Linked DNA regions of Homo sapiens: region 1 is linked to region 2. Evidence: promoter capture Hi-C in 16 types of primary human blood cells and fetal thymus (Javierre and others, 2016). All regions are on one chromosome and are shown on one strand. Each heading gives the region's core, a stretch centred on a gene start or on the middle of the fragment in contact. The rest is flanking DNA. Distances are from core to core; before and after follow the strand shown.

Region 1 (3,399 bases), core at 900-3,399, 70 kb before region 2:
GAAGACCCTCATGTGACAGGTGTCCTGCCCTATACCCAGATGGGAAGCAATGTCACATAGGGACACCAAGAAGAATCTGAGCAAACAGGCCTTACTAAATCCATGCCCTCCCTCATGTATTACTACTAGATCATACCTTTTTTCTTTTTTTTTTTTTTTTTTGAGACAGAGTCTTGCTCTGTCACCCAGGCTGGAGTACAGTGGCACAATCTCAGCTCACCACAACCTCCGCCTCCTGGGTTCAAGCAATTCTCCTGTCTCAGCCTCCTGAGTAGCTGGGACTACAGGTGCACACCACCACGCCCAGCTAATTTTTGTATTTTTATTATTTTTTAAATTTTTAATTGTATTTATTATTTTTTTGAAAGAGAGTCTCGCTCTGTTGCGCAGCCTGGAGTGCAGTGGTGCGATCTTGGCTCACTACAACCTCCACTTCCTGGGTTCAAGTGATTCTCCTGCTTCAGCCTCCTGAGTAGGTGGGACTACAGGCACGTGCCACCATGCCCAGTGAATTTTTGTATTTTTTATTAGAGATGGGGTTTCACTATGTTGGTCAGGCTAGTCTCAAACTCCTGACCTCATGATCCACCTACCTCAGCCTCCCAAAGTGCTGGGATTATAGGTATGAGCCACCATGCCCGGCCAATTTTTGTATTTAGTAGTAGAGGCAGGGTTTCACCATATTGGTCAGGCTGGTCTCCAACTCCTGAGCTCAGGTGATCCACCCTCCTTGGTCTTCCAAAGTGCTGGGATTACAGGCATGAACTATCGCGCCCCGCCAGATCATACCTTTGGGTCCACCAATCATAATTCTGCACACTGACCATAAAAACACAGATCTCCTTGTTTCTTTGGGTTTTCATTTCTGAAGGTTTCCATGTCAGGGAAAACTTTTTTTTTTTTTTGAGACGGAGTCTCGCTCTGTCGCTCAGGCTGGAGGGCAGTGGCGTGATCTCGGCTCACTGCAAGCTCTGCCTCCTGGGTTCACGCCATTCTCCTGCCTCAGCCTCCAGAGTAGCTGGGACTACAGGCGCCCGCCACAACACCCAGCTAATTTTTTTGTATTTTTTAGTAGAGATGGGGTTTCACCATGTTAGCCAGGATGGTCTCAATCTCCTGACCTTGTGATCTGCCCGCCTCAGCCTCCCAAAGTGCTGGGATTACAGGCGTGAGCCACCGCGCCCGGCAGGTAAACTTTTATTAAATTTGTATGCTTTTCTCTTGTTAATCTGTTTTTAAAATTTTATTTCATTTATTTATTTTTTAGAGACAGGGTCTCACTCTGTTGCTCAGGCTGCAGTGCAGTGGTGCTGTCATAGCTCATTGTAACCTTTAACTCCTGGGCTCAAGTGATCCTCCCCCTCAGCCTCCTGAGTAGGTAGGACTACAGGTGGGTGCCACCGCACCTGGCTAATTTTTTTGTTTTTTGTAAAGACAGAGACTTGCTATGTTGCCCAGGCTGGTCCTGGCCTCTTGGCCTCAAGCAATCTTTTCGTCTTGTCCTCTCAAAGTGCTGGGATTATAGGCGTGAGACACCTTAATCTTTTATTAAACTTGCAATGAGTGAGGAAAATATATTACTTTTTCTCCCCTACACATTAAAAAGAGTAAAAATAAAGGTCAATTAACTTTAATTTTAACAGCATATTTTATTTAACCCAATATACCCAAAACATTATCATTTCAACATATCAATATAAAATTATTAAGGAGATTTTTAACATTTTTATGGTATTAAGTCTCAAAATCTAATGCCTGTTTGACAACACATGGCCATTTGGACCAGAAACCATTTCAAATGTTCAAAATCTGTGTTGGCTGGTAGCTACTGTATTGGACGGTGCAGAGGGTTGGATGCTGTGTGTGCATTCAGCAAATGAGGACTGAGTATCTGTTCCATACCAGGCACTACGTCAAGACCAGGAACACAGCAGGGCACAAGGAGCCCTGTCCTCCAGGAACTACCAGTGATATCTGAGGGTCTCCGCAAGGGGTAAGCTTGTGTGTGCCAGTTTCACCCATGGGATATCACCCAAGGGATACGTGTCTGCCCCATGATACTCACAACACACATGCCCACATCCTACACTCCTGTTGTCTTGGCAACTGCCAATGAACTACTGCTGCCCAAGAGATTTTATGTCTCCAAGGAGGGAGGCAGAAACAAAGGCAAAATAACACACGGAAGTATTCTGGGTTTCCTTCCTGGAATGGGCATGAAAGAAATAAAGAAATCAAGAAGCCCCCAACCTGGGAGAAAGTGTATTCAGGTGGCAAAGCATCTGGAATTCATAAGCTTGCTTGTGAAGGCACCAGGAAACACTGATCTGTTCACCTTCAAATAACTATAGCTGCCACATGGGGCCATCCTGGATATCAACTCCCAGTAGATCCTGGATCAGATAAGCAGCAGCAAATGCCCAAGTGTCAGGAAAATCCAAGATGACCTTATGTTGTTTCTTCTGAAAATTGAAGTCATGCAGATACAAGCATAGTTTAAGAAGTACTTTATGTGTGTGTCAAGTGAAGAAGCACTTGACGTGAGCTCTTTCTGCAATTCCTGGGTCTTGAGTGGAACCCTCAGTCTGAAGCTGCCAGCCCGGCACTGTACCCATGACCACATAGGTGACAGCACTAATTGAGCCCTTAGGGAGGAGCAGCAGCTATCTCTGCCTCTCCTCAATTTCCTGGGGCTCAAGGTGGACTTTTGACTCCCAGAGAAGAGCAGGAGCCTTTCCTGCATTTCCGTTCAACATTCAAGCGCCTTCTCTCTCTCAGAACTAGTACCCTAACCCTACTCGGTAAAGATGATGCCTACTTCCCAGCCAGGGTGCCTGGTGAGATTCAAAGCCACCACCATGAAAACACGGGAAACTCTAAAACCAGCTATGTGGCAGATGTCAGTCTCAAACATGAGATTGTTAATTGCCTGGATCCCTGGGGATACTGAAGGGACTGAGGGCAAAATAACTAACTGCACTAGTAGAGGAATAAGACTGGCTTGAACTTGCATTCCCACTCTACCAACTCCAAACTTCACTGTCCTCATTTGTAAATAGGTTGCTATAAGGAATAAATGACGTAACACATGAAGTGTTGGGCACAGTATCCGGCTCATAGTAAATGACCAATACATCCCAGCTATCATTATTCTACATTAATAACAACCATGACACACAGCTACGATGTGTGTGGGGGGAGGGGGAAGACTTGAGAGAGCAACCTTTCCTATCACTCCCTCATTTCACAGGTGAGGAAACTGAAGTCCAGGAACAGGTTCGGAGCCAGCTCCCCGCTTTCCAGAGTTGAGGAGAGGAGGAAGGAGAGAGGGGGGAATCGCAGGAGAGGGAGAGAAGCCGGCGGGATTCGAGGTAGGCCTCTGGGGAGCGAGCCGCATAG
Region 2 (4,597 bases), core at 129-2,628:
TCCTCCAGGGGATAGGCCAGGATGTGGTGGCTACATAGTGTTTCACAGGAATGTGTCAAGCCCGAGAGTCCAGGGAGGAGGCTTAGCTTGGCTTCCATCTGCCTATGGTGGGGGCTCCAGAGCAGGCAGAGGGCCTGCTTAGGCCTGCTGGGTCCCAATCAGGCCTGAGGCCTGCTTTAGTCTACTTGGTTCAAAGCCTCACATCTGAGGCCTCAGGGTGCTCAGGCCAGGCAAGGGTCCCCTGGAGCATTCTCAGCCCTGCATGGAGCCAACATGGACATGCTGATGCCTGCTTAGCCTTGGGGGGGTCTTAGACCTGTGAAGGCCTGATAAGATCTGGGGTGTCTGCCAGTGCCGGGGGCCTCCTTGAACCTGAAGCAAGTTTAGATGTGCACAGGCTAGCTAAGGGCTGCAGGCTTTGGGGCTCAAGTTTCAGGCTTGAGGTCTGAGTACTCACTGAACCTCAGCTGCAAGGGCCTCCCCCACCAAAGTCTGAGCACTGGGCATTACTGGCTCAAGCACTTCCGGGTTTTGTTGGTATCGAGGGACCTCAAGCCTTAGGCCTTGGCCACCTGCAGCCCCCTAACCCAAAGTATGTCGCTCAGGCAGAGGTGGCTAGGATTCTACCTCTGTGTGCCCCTGGTGAGGAGCCTTCTATTTTGAAAGTTGGATGAAAGGAACAAGTGGGGCTACCAGGCCAGGTTTCAATTTGTCAGCCCCCTCGCAAGCGGGGAAGGGTAGGTATCAATCGCAATCCTGTGTTGGCGGCCCTGCCCCCTGCAGCCATGAGAGGCAGGAGAGCGAAAGGCGCCCGGGGGACAGCGCTGCACAGCAGACCTGTGCCTCTCATTGCTCCGGGGATTTGGGGGCAGCGTTCTGGTCCTAGCCGAGCTCCAGTTTGTTTCGTGTCCCTTCTGTCTCAAGGACTTCAATCATGAAACCCACGTGTGTGCCAGAAGGACAGAAACGTCCCCTCCGGGATGCTCCCACCGGCTGCGCAGCTGGCTTTCCGCGGAAAGGGCGGAGCCCAGGGAGGGGGCGCGTCAGGGGCGGGGCCTGGAGGAGTCAGACGGGGTGGGGTCTATCCCCGAGCCAGTACTAAAAAAGGCGGAGCCGTTCGGGGCGGTCTCGGTGGGCTGGCTGGAAAGCGGGATGAGGTTCTGGCGTTAGGAGGAGGCGTGACCACCCAATAGGCTTCTCTTCCCGCGGGGCGTGGCCGTCAAGGAGCCGGACGCCGCGCCTGGCTGGGCGGGTCAGCCTCGCAGCGGGCGGCGTGGACGCGGCAGCGCAGCGGCTCCTTTAAGGCTCGGGCACCACCCCCGCCGCCCCGCCTCCCGTGCGGCCTGGGTCTAGTTGGCGGCGGGGTCGGGTCCGCGCGAGCCGCGATGGAGCTGCACATCCTAGAACACCGGGTGCGGGTGCTGAGCGTCGCCCGTCCCGGTCTCTGGCTCTACACCCACCCGCTCATCAAGCTGCTCTTCCTGCCCCGCCGCAGCCGGTGCGCGCCCGGGTTCGGGAGCGCAGATAGGGGCTGGGGGCTCTGCTCTCGCTCCGGGCCAGGGTCGGAGGATTAGGATCGCCGTAAGGCAGGCAGGCAGGCGGGCGGGAGCGGGTGGGGAGGACTCTCCCCGTCCGGCCGCCATCCGGCCTGGGGGACCGCCGCCTATCCGGCCCCGTGAGGCCCCCTCCCAGGGGCAAAGCGCAAACAGCCTGGGATGGGCAATGCTTAACTCAGTAGTGTCAAATGGGGGCATTCCTACCTGGTCACTGCGGGGAGCTCCTTCCAGGACGCCTCCCTTCATGTCAGAGGGGCTGGACTAGGGGGTCCAAGGTCCGACGCCCCTGGGGCTGTCGCCGCGGGTGTGAACCTCTCCTCCCTCCAGGAGTGGAGGGGTGGAGGGTTCCTGGAGAGGTCGGGAGGCCGGAAAGTAGCCCCCAACCCCCGAGATGGGGCTAACATCCCATTGGCCTGGAAATTAAAGGCCGAGAGGGCAAGAAGGCGCCCGGCCCAGGGTCGCGGGGGTGTCTCGGGGCAGATGGAGAGAAATCCACTCCCGACCCCTAGTTCTCCACACCAAGCTGAAGATGCTCCCCACCCCCAACCAGGTGCAAGTTCTTCAGCCTGACGGAGACCCCTGAGGATTACACGCTTATGGTGGACGAGGAGGGCTTTAAAGGTGGGGGTTGGTCTGGGGAACGGGAGTACGGGAGGGGCTTGTCGTGCTCCCCTTCTGTAGGGTTCTCACCAGTTGCTGGGATCCGTCCCAAGAGCTTAAGCCTTAAAAGCAGATGGGTCGGGGTTCGAATCCTACTCCACCACTCCCTGGCTGTGTGCCCTTGAGCAAATCACTTTCCCTCTCTGAGCTGTTTTCTCTTATGTAAAATGGGTATAGTTATGGTTCTGATACATAGGGTCCCATGAGGCCTTTATAAACTTAAAACCGCTGAGGGGCACTCAGCAGTCTTAGGCCTGCAGAAGGGCCTCTGTTATGATTCCAGTCAAGTGCTGCTGTTAGAAATCCCTGGGTATTATTTCCTCCTGGTCTTACTCTCTGGTTTGGGTCACCTCCTCCCCTGCTGGTCTGGAAACTCCAGGAGTCTGAGGGAAGGAATGCAGGAGCAGGCAGCCATCTCAGGGGAGGGTCCTGGAGGCCTCCTGGCTGTGCTGGGGTGAATAGCAGCCACCCAGGCCCTGGCCCCAGCTCAGGACTGGACGCCAGCCTGGGCCCTCCCTGGGGCCTGGAGCTGACGCCTAGCTCCTCCTCCTGCTGCTGGCCCTGCCCATCCTCACAGGCTTGGAGTCTCAGGCCAGCTAGCTGGAGCTTAGCCTGTCCCCATGCTCCACTGCAGGCCTTAGTTTCCCTGTTTTTACTTCAGAAGTCTGGGTCTGCAAAAGGGGAAGGCAATCCCCCAGCCAACCTGATCTGCGAATGCCCCCTGGTGGTGCCATGTGGTACAAAGCTTCTGCTAACCCACAGAAGACACCGTAGTGAGGTAGATATTGTCGTCCCATTTTACAGATGAGGAAACTGAGACTCAAATCACCCACCCCAGGTCATAAGACAAATTAACAAAGCTGGGATTTGAACCCAGGTCTGTCTGAATCTGGACCTCTGATCTTAAGTGGGAAGTTTCAATGCCACCAGGCCAGCACTTGAAGCCTTTCTCAGTCTTTGCACACATAGGGACTTCAGGAGCCCCAGCCTCCAGACCTGCCCTTACCTTGATGGAGCCCTCCAAGGCACAGAAAGGGAAACTGAGGCTCAGAGAGGGGCAGGGGCCAGCCTTGTAGACCCTGACCTGACATGTCCCCTGCCCACAGAGCTGCCCCCATCTGAGTTCCTGCAAGTAGCTGAGGCCACATGGCTGGTGCTGAACGTGTCGTCTCACAGCGGTGCGGCAGTGCAGGCTGCTGGGGTCACCAAGATCGCCCGTTCGGTCATCGCGCCACTGGCCGAGCACCACGTGTCTGTGCTGATGCTGTCCACTTACCAGACGGACTTCATCCTGGTGAGTTTCCTGCTGGTGCTGATGCAGAGCAGGGTGGATATAGGTACCTGGGAGCCCATGTGATGTGCCATCTGCTGTGGCCCAGGTGCGGGAGCAGGACCTGTCCGTGGTGATCCACACGCTGGCCCAGGAGTTCGACATTTACCGCGAGGTGGGCGGAGAGCCTGTGCCTGTGACGAGGGATGATTCCAGCAATGGCTTTCCCCGCACTCAGCATGGTGAGGGCCGCCCCCTGACACTTGGACTTGGGCAGGGCCTCCTCTTCCCACTGGGTCCCTTCCCTTTTGGGCCCCAGTGGGGCAGGAGGACCCCGGCCAGTTCCTGGATAGCAAGACCTGCCCCTGGCCCACGCCTCTCCCTGACTAGCCACCAGGGGGCGCCCCAGCCCACGGACACCTTTTCACCTGCTGCTGTCCTCCAGCAGGGCCCAGCCCCACGGTGCATCCCATCCAGAGCCCACAGAACCGCTTCTGTGTCCTCACACTGGACCCTGAGACGCTTCCAGCCATCGCCACCACCCTCATAGATGTCCTCTTCTACTCGCACAGGTGGACCTTGGAACTTCGTCTTTGTCCTCACAGCACTGTTCCCTACACTCTGTCCCACCACTTTCCGCCCATCTATCAGTTTTGCACCTCTTGCTTGTCCTCTCTTGGGGTTCCTGGCAGCCCATGATGCTCACTTGTGCTTCACTGATGTTCGGGGAAGGTTCTTGCCCCAAAGCTGGATCCCTTTCCAGTGGGGTCGTCTGAGCCATGCCCTGGTCTGGCCCTCTCACCGTGGAATCCTTTGTTTTTGGCACAGGCTGGGTTCATTGTCCTCCCCCATCCCCACCCACACCTTCCAGAGGGCTGGACCCTTGGGCGGGTAGCAGATATGGCAGAGCCTGCCCAGGCCACCATACCAGCTCCTTCCCAGGGTTCTGGAGGCTGATCGGGAGCAGGGGCAGTAGGCTGGGTGCCTGGTAGAGCCCCTAAACCTCCCATCCCTCCCCAGCACCCCCAAGGAGGCAGCCTCTAGCAGTCCTGAACCCAGCTCCATCACGTTCTTTGCCTTCTCCCTCATCGAGGGTTATATCTCCATTGTC

The links. The method cuts DNA at HindIII sites, captures the fragments that hold promoters and counts their contacts. A CHiCAGO score of 5 or more calls a contact.
Region 1: a fragment that was not itself captured here is called in contact with the fragment with the promoter of CASTOR1 in region 2 in 16 of 17 cell types (naive CD4 T cells, naive CD8 T cells, total CD8 T cells and 13 more); the score reaches 20.4 in naive CD4 T cells.

The regions. Positions count from the first base shown.
Region 1 is chr22:30,358,011-30,361,409 of GRCh38, reverse strand. All of the region lies in intron 1 of CCDC157 (coiled-coil domain containing 157), which reads right to left. Among named protein-coding and RNA genes, the nearest start is that of CCDC157, 2.7 kb to the right of the region's middle. RefSeq lists an enhancer at 3,035-3,399. The HindIII fragment of the contact is 298 bases long and covers 2,001-2,298 here.
Region 2 is chr22:30,286,286-30,290,882 of GRCh38, reverse strand. It overlaps CASTOR1 (cytosolic arginine sensor for mTORC1 subunit 1), which reads left to right and starts at 1,378. Exons shown (of 9, transcript NM_001037666.3): 1 at 1,378-1,498; 2 at 2,107-2,177; 3 at 3,323-3,510; 4 at 3,596-3,728; 5 at 3,935-4,058; 6 at 4,507-4,597. The coding sequence starts at 1,386. RefSeq lists an enhancer at 61-120 and silencers at 1,001-1,440, 1,641-1,720. The HindIII fragment of the contact is 5,917 bases long and covers 1-2,963 here.